2 separate regions of the Homo sapiens genome follow, and region 1 is linked to region 2. Evidence: promoter capture Hi-C in 16 types of primary human blood cells and fetal thymus (Javierre and others, 2016). All regions are on one chromosome and are shown on one strand. The core of a region is centred on a gene start or on the middle of the fragment in contact, and the rest is flanking DNA. Distances in the headings are between cores, read along the strand shown. Region 1 holds the start of LOC101927522 (a long non-coding RNA gene). Region 2 holds the start of ZNF792 (zinc finger protein 792).

Region 1 (6,200 bases), core at 1,259-3,758, 470 kb after region 2:
GAAAGTTTTGACAGACAGTGGGGCAAGACACTTGCACAAAACAGGAAGCCAGAGGAATCCTTAAAACCCACACATCATACAAAAATAAAGAAAGAAAATAAAACATGATAAAAGAAATGAAACCCATACATCAGATCACTTACTCCTCTGCCTTATACCCTTCAAGAGTTTCCTATGACTTTGGGAATAAAATCCAAATCCTCACCTTGGACAACAGGGCCCTGCACCATGTGTTTTCCCTCCACCCCCTCCACCCCCAGCTGTCACGTCTCTGACCTGGTTTCCCATCACTTCCCTCATGCTCATTCCCACCCCACCCCCCCAGCCACACTGGCCTCCTTTCGGTTTCTCCATCACACCAAGCTTCGTATCGCCTCAGGGCCTTTGCAAAAAATGTCCCATCTGCCCCGAGTGTTCCTCTCCCAGCTCTTCCATGGAGAGCACCTACAGGCCTCGGCTCAAATGTCACCCCTTCAAGGACATTTCCCTGCTGCCCCCAGCACAGATTACCCTATTCTATCATCCAATTCTATTTCCTTCCGAAAGCGTGCCCCACATTACCTCCTATATTACTGTAGAGACTGTACTAGTGTCTCACCCCTCCCCACAACTACAATGTCAATTTCATGAAGGCAAGAACCATGTCTGCCTTTAAAAAAAAAAAAAATCAGGGTCTCACTCTGTCCCACAGGCTAGAGTGCAGTGGCACAATCTAGGCTCACTGCAGCTTTGATCTCCTGGGCTCAAGTGATCCTCTGACCTCAGCTTCCTGAGTAGCTGGAACTAAAGGCATGCACTACCACATCTGGCTAATTTTTGTATTTTTTTGTAGAGATCAGGTGTCACCATGTTACCCAGGCTGGTCTTGAACTCCTGAGCTCAAGCAATCCACCTGCCTTGGTCTCCCACCAAGTGCTGGGATCATAGGCATGAGCCAACACACCCAGCCACAATGCCTGTCTTGTGATGCTCTATCCCCAACCATCCATGGAGAGATGAAAATGCATGATCTGGTTGTTACCTTGCACTCAGCTGCCTAATCCAAGAGACATGCAGGTGACTTTGAGAAGGCTGGGGCTGTCCTGGGCCCACAGAATTCAGACAGAAGACACTGGGGAAAGGAGAGGAGGTGGGACAGGGACCAGACACAGAGCACTGGAAAGGAGAGGATGTGCAGGAGCAAGAGCTGAGCCGGATTTTCCAGACGGCGGCAGACTCTGGGGGGCTGCCTGGACTTGGGGCATTTTTTCTGGGCTGGCCCTGGACTTAGAGAATATTTTTGTGATTTAGCGGCCCCAATTTTTGTGAAATGTCCTCTGCTGACTGAGAGATTAACCTGCTTTGACTGGGCCATGCTAAAAAATGAACAGGAATTTGATATAGTCCAGTGTGGAGGTGGAGAGGGAGGGAGGTGAAGAAAGAACAGAAGGAAGGGGTAAGACACACTGAGGAGCAGATGGAAGTTACCTGAGGGGATCCTCCAAAGAAGAAAGGGTGGGCTATGCAAACAGTGGATGTAAAAAGACGCCTGGAAGAAGTTAGGACTTGGATTTCTAGGAGAGATTAATTCGACTTGTAGGAGCAGGGATTTGGGGAGAGGCAGAGGGCTCTGCTGCCTCTGAAAGAGCTCACCGAGTGCGCTCCCTCTCTCTGACTAAGGACCCCTGTGGATAAGAAAGCTCTCTGCCCTAGAGAAGAAGAGCAGTCAAGGTGCTTACAGGCTCTTTCCCGAAGACTGAAGACCTTTCCCAGGGTGGACTGTGGTGCCCTTCCCTGTGCAGGCACCCTGACCACTGTGTGTTCAGAGAAGAGGGATGTGGCACACACACCTGAGAAGCACTGGGACTCCTGCGAGACCAAGTGGGAGGTTGCCACTCCTGGGGACCATCTGATGGGAAGCAGCGGTGAAGAAAAGGGAATGGCGTCTGGATGTGGATGGAGGCAGGTGCTTCTACTGCTGCCCGGCCAGAGAGGAGCATCCCCAGAGGGTCCGTCCCTAGCCAGGCTGGAAGCTTGTCTCTGCGCATCTGGTCCCCTCTCGAAGCAGTTCTCAAAAGCCGTTGAGACACACTGCTGGGATGTGGCAACACACCAAGAGGCAAGAAATGTAAGTCCATGGTTCCTGGTAATACTGAAAAAACTAGGCTTTGGAAGTTTAAGTAAACAAAGAAATGAGAGGATATAAGGTAAGCTGTTACAACGTCACTGTCAGTTATGAGTATTCTGTTATGCTTTCTTTTGAGCCAGTCTCGCTCTTTTGCCCAGGCTAGAGTACAGTGGCATGATCTCGGCTCACTGCAACCTTTGCCTCCCGGGTTCAAGCGATTCTCCTGCCTCAGCCTCCTGAGTCACTGGGATTACACATGCCCGCCACCACACCCAGCTAAATTTTTTTGTATTTTAGTACAGACAGGGTTTCACCATGTTGCCCAGGGTGGTCTCAAACTCCTGAGCTCAGGCAATCCGCCCACCTCAGCCTCGCAAAGTGCTAGGATTACAGGTGTGGGCCATCATGCCTGGCCCCCATTACACTTTCTAGAGAGAGGAAGAAGTACTAACCTCACAGTGCAGACTGGAGACTGCACAGCACATGCGCAGATGGTCTTGACAGAGGATGCCTCCCTCTGTGCTGGGGAACTCATCCTTGCCCATTCAGTTTCCGTGGCTCAAGCAGGCTGATGTCAGCCCTTGGCGATGCTGTTGGCGTGTGTGACCCACAAATCATTCAGAGGCAGCAGAGCCAGCCTGGAGATCCGGGCTGTGACTTCAGGACAGGAGACCCTCTCTCTGCACAGGTTATTATCCTAAACTGCCAAAGGTCACTGCGTGAAGCAATTTTACTAAGAGCCACCAAACCCCTCTCTTCCCTCCAACCAAGTTCATTCACCCTTCTCAGAAGAGCCCAAGAGACCTCTGTGAGAGTAAGACAGGAGTTGGCGATGGTGCAATTTGCAGAACGCCATGTTTGTTAGCGCCTTGTCTTCATGTGGCCGGAGGGCACTCCTGAAGCTTCAAACTCCTGTAAAAACGCTTCCTGTCCAGGGAGGGTGGTATGGGAAGTCTGAGGTGGCTGGGAGAGGAACTGGCGAAGTAAGGAGTTGGAGCAGGAGTCAGAGAGACATGGGATGGGGAAACTCACAAGCAGACTCCACCCCAGTCAGGGAACCTCACTCACCGTTCCATTAAGGGCTGGAAAAGGAGGCACCGACAGGTGTCTCACAGAAGCGAATGGTAGCTGTTCAGGAGGCTGGACCCAGGAAAAAGGACATAAAATCGGGGAGGTGCCTCACCCTAATTTTTCTCAACTCCAGCAGAACCTTCTTAGAGAGCCTCACTCAATTCCACATTTCTCCTCCTCTCAGACAAGCCCGGCAGCTCCGTCCACGTCCTTTGCTGAATGGAGCCAGCGTGGTCACTTCTGCCCTATCGAGGAAGCTGAAGGCCCTGGCCCATCTCTGACAGCTCAGGGCACAGGAAAGCCTTGCCTCTGCCTAGTCTGCCCTCTGCTTCCCCACCAGCGTCATCTGTGGCCCACGGCTCTTGGCTGGACCTGCACTGAAGGACACAGCTGCTCCGAGCTACACAACAGGGTGGCTGTCCCTCCGCCCTCCATGTGTGGTGGCTGCTGCAGCAGGATACAGCCAGCCTCCTGGCTGCTATCCCACAGTGCTATGGTTGATTGCGTTCTTACACTGGAAGATAAACAGTGCTTGTGTCAAAGAAAATAGAAACAAGGCCGAGCATGGTGGCTCATGCCTGTAATCCCAGCACTTTGGGAGGCGGAGGTGGGCAGATCACTTGAGGTCAGGAGTTTGAGATCAGCCTGTCCAACATGGCGAAACCCCATCTCTACTAAAAATATAAAAATTAGCTGGGTGTGTTGGCATGCGCCTGTAACCCCAGCTACTCGGGAGGCAGAAGCAGAAGAATTGCTTGAAACCGGGAGGCAGAGGTTGTAGTGAGCCAAGATCGCACCACTGCACTCCAGCCTGGGAGTGCTCATATGAGCACTCACTCTACAGAGACCCTGTCTCACAAAAATAAATAAATAAATAAATAAATAAAATAAATAGATAAAAAAAAGAGGTAGAAGCTGGAAAAGTGGTTATCTTAGGAGTGGAAGGTTTGCTGACTGAGAGGGAATAAAAGGGCCTCTAGGGTGCTGAAAATGGCCTGCATCTCAACCTGGGTGGTCATACACAAATGTACAGATATGTTAACATGCATCCAGCTGTATCCCTAAGTTGAGCTCACCTTTTTGTATGTATGTTACCTGTTAATAACACAATTGATAAAAGCCCCCTCTAAAATCCCACATCTTCCTATGGCTACCATAGATATTTTAGGCTTATAATTGGTTTTGCTCCCCATATTTGCTATTCAAGATCTGTATAATTTTGGAACTCTCCCCTTTTTCCTTGCCAACAGGGTCCCAATTTTGTTAGGTTCGGGAAGTGCCCAATTAATACTCATTTGCCCAAACTCTCTTGCGGCTAGGAATTGCCATGAGATACAATGTCAGCCAGTTGGAAATAAGTACACATCTGCTGGGTAGGGCTTCCAGAAAAGCTATCATTTTCCTTTTTCCTTCTTTAGAGACAAGGTCTCGCTGTGTGGCCCAGGCTGGAGTACAGTGGTGCCATCACAGCTCACTGCAGCCTCCCATTCCCAGGCTCAAGCGATCCTCCCACCTCAGCCTCCCAAGTAGCTGGAACTATAAGAGTGCACCACCACACCCAACTAGATTTTTTTTTTATTTTTTGTAGAGATAGGGGGTCTCACTCTGTTGCCCAGGCAGGTCTCGAACCCTTGGCCTCAAGCGATCCTCTTGCCTCGGCCTCTCAAAGTGCTGGAATTACAGGCGTGAGCCACTGCATCTAGAAAAGTTGTCATTTTCCTGCTTGAAAAAGGGATAGATCCATCTCTCATACGTCTTTTGCTCTCTGTCCTCCCTGCCCCCTGTTTTTCTGCTCAGAATGTAGATGCTTCTTAGGACCATGAAGCGAAAGCCAAGATCTGGGGATAGTGAAACAGATAGCCAGAGGACCCCAGGCTGTGGATGGATGAGTGATCCTGAGCAGCAGCCGTGGACATGGGTTCCCTAATTCCTTCATGTCCCATGAGAAAAATAAACCTCTATGTGTTTAAGTCTCTGTTATTTGGGCATATTTGACAGTCCTCAAATGAGATATAAGGGTTTTATCTTCATAAATGGCAAAGACTTCTAGAGACAGAAGGGAAGGCTTCTGGGTGCTAATTCACTGTGGCTTCATATCATCAAGTAGCAAGGGCTCAAGGAAAAAAAAAAGTGGGGGAAGGAATCCCCAAGACATTCCCAAAATTAAGACTACATTCTCCCCTCCCACCTTCTCCTGAGAGCAGTCTTCCCTGCTTCCTATGGAATCTGAATTCTTCTGGCATTGGAAAAGGCTCAGGGAAGATGGCTCAACGTGAAGAGGATCTCAGTTCACGTAAACTTTACCAAGAGCGGGTCTTAGAGTGTTATGTCCACTGCATCACTGTTTCTCAATCTATTTTTAACCACTTCCCACTTCTGATAAACAGAAACTTTACTTTCTGGTTTGCATTAAGAAAACCAGGGCTTTTCTCTCTCTCTTGGAAAATTTCCAAGCATTTTGAAACGTGCTGCCAACTCCCCGGGTGTGACACCCGGGAGTTTCTGATATCCTCCCTGCACTTCCTGAAAATCTGCCGTCTAATTTAAGTTTCCTAAGATTCTGCAAAGCAGACAGAAACCCTGGTGACTCCAGCGATACCACAACTCTTAGGGGAAGATGAGTCATGTATGTGGCAGAAGCAGGTAATGGAGGAAAACAGAGACAAGGTTGGGCTGGGGAAAGGAACACAGAGCAACTAGTTTTGCCCCCCATCTGGTGTGTCTTTTGCAGGATCAGCCAGCACCTGACTGCAAGTTTCCGCCTCCAGACACTCTGCTGCCTCTCCTCCCTGGCTCAGGGTCAGCACTGAAAATCAGCCCAAGGAAACGACCAGCTGCCTTCTGGCCCTTATCAAGGGTGGTGTGAACCCGCGCTAGCTACCCAGGGGTCTGGCCCGGAAGCGGCAGGGGGAGGGCTTTTTAGTCCTGTGTCTAGTCCAGTGGTCACCTCTGCACGGACAGCAGATGGAGAAGGGGGCTCGGGGAAGGAGGAAAAGGTCAGGCAACCTCTCCAGGATTCCTG
Region 2 (6,094 bases), core at 23-2,522:
CCTCCACATCGGAAAATTTGGTCAGCTTGACTTAAAAGACATCAAGTTCCCAATCACTTCCTCTACCTCCAGTCCTCACTCTGGTCCGGCCAGCCGCAGCACTGGCCTGGGCTATTCCATTAGGCTACTCCTTGGCATCCCTGCTTGCGGCTCACTCCATATTCAGTTCTCCACTGTGCATCCACAGGGAGCCTGTTAAGACCTGAGTCACAGCATCTTCCTCCTCTGCCCTAAACCTTCCATGGCTCCCAACACCCTCAGAACAGAGGCCCAGCTCTGCCGTTCTGAGCTGTCTTCAGCCCACCTGCTCTCTGGTTCCAGCAGACATAATATTAATAACACTGACCTGGGTGGGGTTCCTTGAACACTCCCAACTCAGTCTCCACACCGTGCCCCACCCCACCCCCAAGCTTTTGCGCACGCTGGTTCCTGTGCCTACAAAGCCCTTTCTCCCTCCATCCCATTACATTTCAGCAACGGAAGCCACTTTATATAAACCCTGCCCTGATTCAGGATCCTAGCTGGGAGCAACTCCCTTCCAGGGTCCCCTGACTCAAAAGCAAGGAAATGGGAAAGGCGAAAAGTCCTAGAACAAAGCCATCTTTTGCGTCTCAACACCGAGAACAGAAGCGTGGGGGGCCGACAGCGAAGGGCCTAACGTCCAAGCACTCACCTGCGCGGGGTCCCGCAGCGCCGCCGCTGCCATCGGAGTCTGTGGTCAGAGCAGGGCCCCACGGTGCGGGAAACCACGGGGCGGGGGTAGGGGGTCTCGCAGGCTGAGGCTACCACCCACCTGGCCGTGCCCCAGACGAGGTGTGACCCCGGGCTGAGGGTCGCACTCCTAGCCTCAGTCTCCCCCGTGCAAAATGCGCAAGGGGCCCGGGGCGCAGGCTCCGGGGGCGCCGAGAGCGCGCAGCTCCGCTGGGTACCCCCGTTGCAAGGGGTCACGGCTGGTGCAAAGGCGCGGAGGGGGTCCCGGCCTCACTGTCCCCCTCGCGGTCCGGGAAAGCCGGCGGGGCAGCTTCACGGGCGTAGCCCCAGCCGCCCCGCCCCCAACTCGGGGTCCCCAGCTCCTGGGGACTCAGCCTCCCCGCCGGGAAATGACCTGCGAGGCTGCAGTGCAGGAAGTTCCGGCCCCCACCGTGGCGGCCGGGAGAGTTGCCCTCTCCCGTACTGTCATTGGCCTGGCGCCAGCCGCTGGTGCACAGGCAGGGCCTGGGGATCGCGAGTTTCTGCCCAGCCTCTCGTCAGGCTGAGGGTCCAGGGCGGGAAGGAGAGCGGATCTCGTCGGGTCTCCACCGCCGCCGCCTGCAGCCCTCGGGCCTTCCCCTTAAAGGGGCCGCTCCCGAGCCTGCAGCCGCCCGCGCTAAACCCCGCCCACCCTCCGAGGTCCAGGAGGAGAGCCCCAGTGCTCTTCCTGCGCGTGTGGGCATCGGCCAGCCGCTTCACCCCTAAGGGACCTAAATTCACACTGGAAAATGGGGATAGTACCCAATGGGCGGGGTCTTTGCGTTGTAATATTAAATGTCGCTCTGATTCAGGGCTTCTCAAACCAGCAACATCAGCATCACCTGGGGACTGGCTGAAAATGCAGGTTCTGGGGCAACAACTTAAATCTAAGGACTCAGAAATTCTGGGGATGGGATTCAGCCTTCTCTACTTTTTGCGGGGGGGGCGGGGGGGATGGGTCTCGTTCTGTTGTCCAGGCTGGAGTGCAGTGGCCTGATCATAGCTCACTGCAGCCTCCATCTCGGGCTCAAGCTATCCTCCTGCCTCAGCCTACCAGGTAGATGGGATACAGGCGTGCACCATCATACACAGCTAATTTTAAAATTTTTTGTAGAGACTGGATCTCCCTGTGATGCCTAGGCTGGTCTCAAACTCCTGAGCTCAAGTGATCCTCTCACCTCGGCCTCCCAAAGTGTTGGGAATTGCAGGAGTGAGCCATGGTGCCAGGCCTCCTTCTCTGTTTTAACAAGCCCTCTGGGGACTCCAATGCTGGCTCCAACTTTACAGCAGGGACTCTCATTGAAATCCAGTAAATAAAATGGGAAAAATAACACTACATTGTTGCAGGAAGTCAGGGACCCCGAACGGAGGGACCTGCTGAAGCCGTGACAGAAGAACATTAATTGTGAAGATTTCATGGACATTTATTAGTTCCCCAAATTAATACTTTTATAATTTCTTATGCCTGTCTTTACTGCAATCTCTGAACATAAATTGTGAAGATTTCATGGACATGTATCGCTTCCCCAATCAATACTCTTGTGATTTCCTATGCCTGACTTTACTTTAATCTCTTAATCCTGTCATCTTCGTAAGCTGAGGATGTATGTCATCTCAGGACCCTGTGATGATTGCGTTAACTGCACAGATTGTTTGTAGGGCATGTGTGTTTGAACAATATGAAATCTGGGCACCTTAAGAACAGGATAACAGCGATTTTCAGGGAACAAGGGAGATAACCTTAAAGTCTGGCTGCCTGTGGGACGGGCAGGACAGAGCCATATTTCTCCTATTACCAAAAACGGGTAAGAGAAATATCGCTGAATTCTTTCCCCAGTAAGGAATATTAATAATTAACAGCCCTGGGAAAATAATGCATTCCCAGGGCAGTGCCTCTAAAATGGCTGCCCTGGGAGTGTCTGCCTTATGCACATGTAGATAGGGATGAAACACACCCTAGTCTCCTGCAGCGCCCCCAGGCTTGCTAGGATTAGGAAATTCCAGCCTGGCGAACTCTAGTCAGACCAGTTCTCTGCTCTTGAACCCTGTTAAGATGTTTATAAATGACAATGCGTGCACAGCAGGACATGGAAGCTCATGAGTGATTCTAGTTTTGCCCTGACCTTGTGATCTCGCCCTGACCTTCTGCCTTGTGATCTTTTGTTGCCCTTAAAGCATGTGATCTCTGTGACCCACACCCTATTCGTACACTCCCTCCCCTTTGAAAATTGCCAATAAAAACTTGCTGGTTTTATGGCTCGGGGGCATCACGGAACCTGCTGACATGTGATGTCTCCCCCAGACACCCAGCTTTAAAATTTATCTCTTTTGTACTCTTTCCCTTTATTTCTCAGACCAGCCGACACTTAGGGAAAATAGAAAAGAACCCACATTGAATTATCGGGGGTGGGTTCCCCCGATACTACATGTCATATGGTGAAACCACCTTTGTAAAAATTATAACTGAGAAAATTATGACAGTGAGAGATCTGACCTAACCAACTCCATCTTGCTTCTAACCTCCAAGCTGTCCTTGTTCGTTCCTGAGCATAGGCCTAACTAACTTTGGGAGAAACTCAGTTTACAGTTTAACTTTGAAGCAAAGATAACAGCCCTTTCCCTCTAGGCCGGGCATGGTGGTTCACCCCTGTAATCCCAGCACTTTGGCAGGCCGAGGCAGGCGGATCACGAGTTCAGGAGATCGAGACCATTCTGGCTAACATGGTGAAACCCTGTCTCTACTAAAAATACAAAAAATTAGCCAGGTGTGGTGGCGGGCACCTGTAGTCCCAGCTACTCAGGAGGCTGAGGCAGGAGAATGGCATGAACCCCGGGAGGTAGAGCTTGCAGTGAGCTGAGATCGCCTCCAGCCCGGGCAACAGAGCGAGACTCCATCTCAAAAACAAAAACAAACAAAAAAACCCAGCCCTTTCCTGAAACAAACCCTCTTCTTGTCTGGGGACCAGACTGCCTTTGTAGGATTAACAAAAGCCACAAGATTAGAGAGTATGGTTTAGGAGTCATGCAGCCAGGGGCCAGGGGTCACAAGATTTTAAACCTTCCCAATTGCTACTGGGGATAACATCACTATTGTAAAACCTAAGATTGGTGCTCGAGATATTTTTCAGACCCAGCACTCGATGGATCAGCTAGTGCCACCCAGATTGATAAACTGGGTCATCTGGTCCTGTGGTCCCCACCCTGGAATTTACTCAGTGCAGTTAGTCAACTTTGACTCCCTGTGATTTCATCTCTAACCCAACTAATCAGCACTCCCCACTACCTGGCCCCCCACCCACCAAATTATCCCTGAAAACCTCTGATCACTGAATTTTCAGGGAGATCAAGTTGAGTAATAACTCTGTTTCTCCCATGGCATGGCTGGCCCTGTGTCAGTTAAAGACTTTGTTTACTGCAATGCCGTGGTCTTTTTGTAGCAGGCAAAAAGAACCCATTGGGTGGTTACAATGGTAGATAACAGGGCCCAGGACAGAATTCCTGCTGGGTGCATAAAAGCTATTGTCATTACCAACACCATCATCACAAGAATCTTACAAACACTGCTGTGGGGCGGCAGGGAAGAGACACCTCTGTGCAGTCTTTTGGATGTTTGTCAAAATATACAATGACTCTAACTCAGCAAGTACCGCCTCAGAGGGAATAGTTATGATTTTTACATGAAAGCACACCATAGTAACATTTGCCTACTTGATTTTATTTTATTATTTTCTTATAGCTGCATTTTTTTGTTTTTCTAAATTTATAAAATAATATATAATTATTGTATGCAACATGATGTTTTGAAATATAGATACATTGTGGAATTGATAGGGACAGGAGGTAGGGAAATTCTGGGCAGAAGAGGCCAGGTCCATCAAGCTGAAAATCTTGATACCACGGCCCAAAGTGAGAACTTACATCCCTGTTTTCCCACTCAAATGTTGCCTTTTCCAAAACCACCCGTGGCTCACCCTGCCCCCCATCCTATGCCCATAAAAACCCCAGGCTCAGCCGGCAGAGAGAAGAAAAGCAGCTGGACATTGGAGACTATGGTTGGATGTTGGAGAGAAGCAGGCTGACTTCAAAGGGACAGCTTGACAGCGTAGCTTTGGAGAGGATGGCCAGGGATGGCCAAACTTCAGGGGACGATTACCTTCCTGCTCCATCCCCTTTTCAGCTCCTCTTCCTGCTGAGAGCCACTTTCACCGGCAATAAAATCCCCTGCATTTACCATCTTCAATTTGTTTGTGTGACCTCATTCCTCCTGGATGCCAGACAAAAACTTGGGTGCCATGAGTGTGGGTACAAAAGGCTGTCGCACTGACCCTCCACTGAGCTGTTAACACTTAAGCTATGCATGGATGGCAAAGCTAAAAGGGCACTGTAACACTTCGTCAGGGGCTTCAGGGGTCACAGCACCTTCCCCTAGACACTGCCGTGGGGCTAGTATGGAATTTGCTCTTGCCAGCACCCAAAAGCCCTCACCCTGTCTCCTGCACCCACTCACCTGTGCTCCCCTCCCCATGAGGGGTGGAACAACAAGCGAGTGGAGTTCGTCCCTGACAGCGCCCATGTACTCTAGTTCCCATCCAAGAAGGGGTCAGGGAAATATCCTGCTTCAGAATGACTAAATCAAGCTCATTAACATATGCATCACTTCACATTGTTTTGTTTTGAGACAGGGTCTCATTCTCTCACCCAGGCTGGAGTACGGTGGCACTATCGTGGCTCACAGCAGCCTTGACCTCTTGAGCTCAAGCCATCCTCCCACTTCAGCCTCCCGAGAAGTTGAGACTACAGACGTGCACCACAACACCCAGCTAGTTTTTTGTATCTTCTGCAGAGATGGAGTTTCACCATGTTGTCTAGGCTGGTCTCAAACTCCTGGGCTCAAGCACTCCTCCTTGCCTTGGTCTCCCAAAGTGCTGCGATTACTGGTGTGAGCCATGGCACCAGCCTTAGTTATCTTTTTTGTGTTGAGAAGACTTAAAATCTACTCTTTAAGCATTTGTCAAGAATACACCGTAACTACAGTCACCAGGTTGTACAATAGATCTCTTGAACTTATTCCTCCTAGCTACCTGAAATTTTATATCCTTTGACCAACATTGCCCCACTCCCACCACCTGGCAACCTCAGCCTCTGGTAACCAACATTTCACTCTATTTCTATGAGACAACTTTTTTAGGTTCCATATATGAGTGGGATTATGTAGTATTTGTCCTCTGTGCCTGACTTATTTCACTTAATATAATGTCCTCCGGTTCAACCTTGTTGTCCCAATTGACAGGATTTTCTTCTCTTTTATGACCAAATAGTATTCAGTTGTGTATCTCTACCACATTGTACAAATCCGTTTATCTGT

The links. The method cuts DNA at HindIII sites, captures the fragments that hold promoters and counts their contacts. A CHiCAGO score of 5 or more calls a contact.
Region 1: a contact is called between a fragment that was not itself captured here and the fragment with the promoter of ZNF792 in region 2, in 4 of 17 cell types (total B cells, total CD8 T cells, naive CD8 T cells and 1 more). The highest score is 8.3, in total B cells.

The regions. Positions count from the first base shown.
Region 1 is chr19:35,431,030-35,437,229 of GRCh38, forward strand. It overlaps LOC101927522 (a long non-coding RNA gene), which reads right to left and starts at 3,624. Exons shown (of 7, transcript NR_187751.1): 1 at 3,291-3,624; 2 at 2,560-2,809; 3 at 1,830-2,073. RefSeq lists enhancers at 1,865-3,064, 5,514-6,200 and a silencer at 5,598-5,892. The HindIII fragment of the contact is 997 bases long and covers 2,011-3,007 here.
Region 2 is chr19:34,962,957-34,969,050 of GRCh38, forward strand. It overlaps ZNF792 (zinc finger protein 792), which reads right to left and starts at 1,273. Exons shown (of 4, transcript NM_175872.5): 1 at 674-1,273. The coding sequence starts at 706. It overlaps LOC124904699 (a long non-coding RNA gene), which reads left to right and starts at 470. Exons shown (of 2, transcript XR_007067236.1): 1 at 470-717; 2 at 4,735-4,964. RefSeq lists silencers at 615-664, 775-1,034. The HindIII fragment of the contact is 6,406 bases long and covers 409-6,094 here.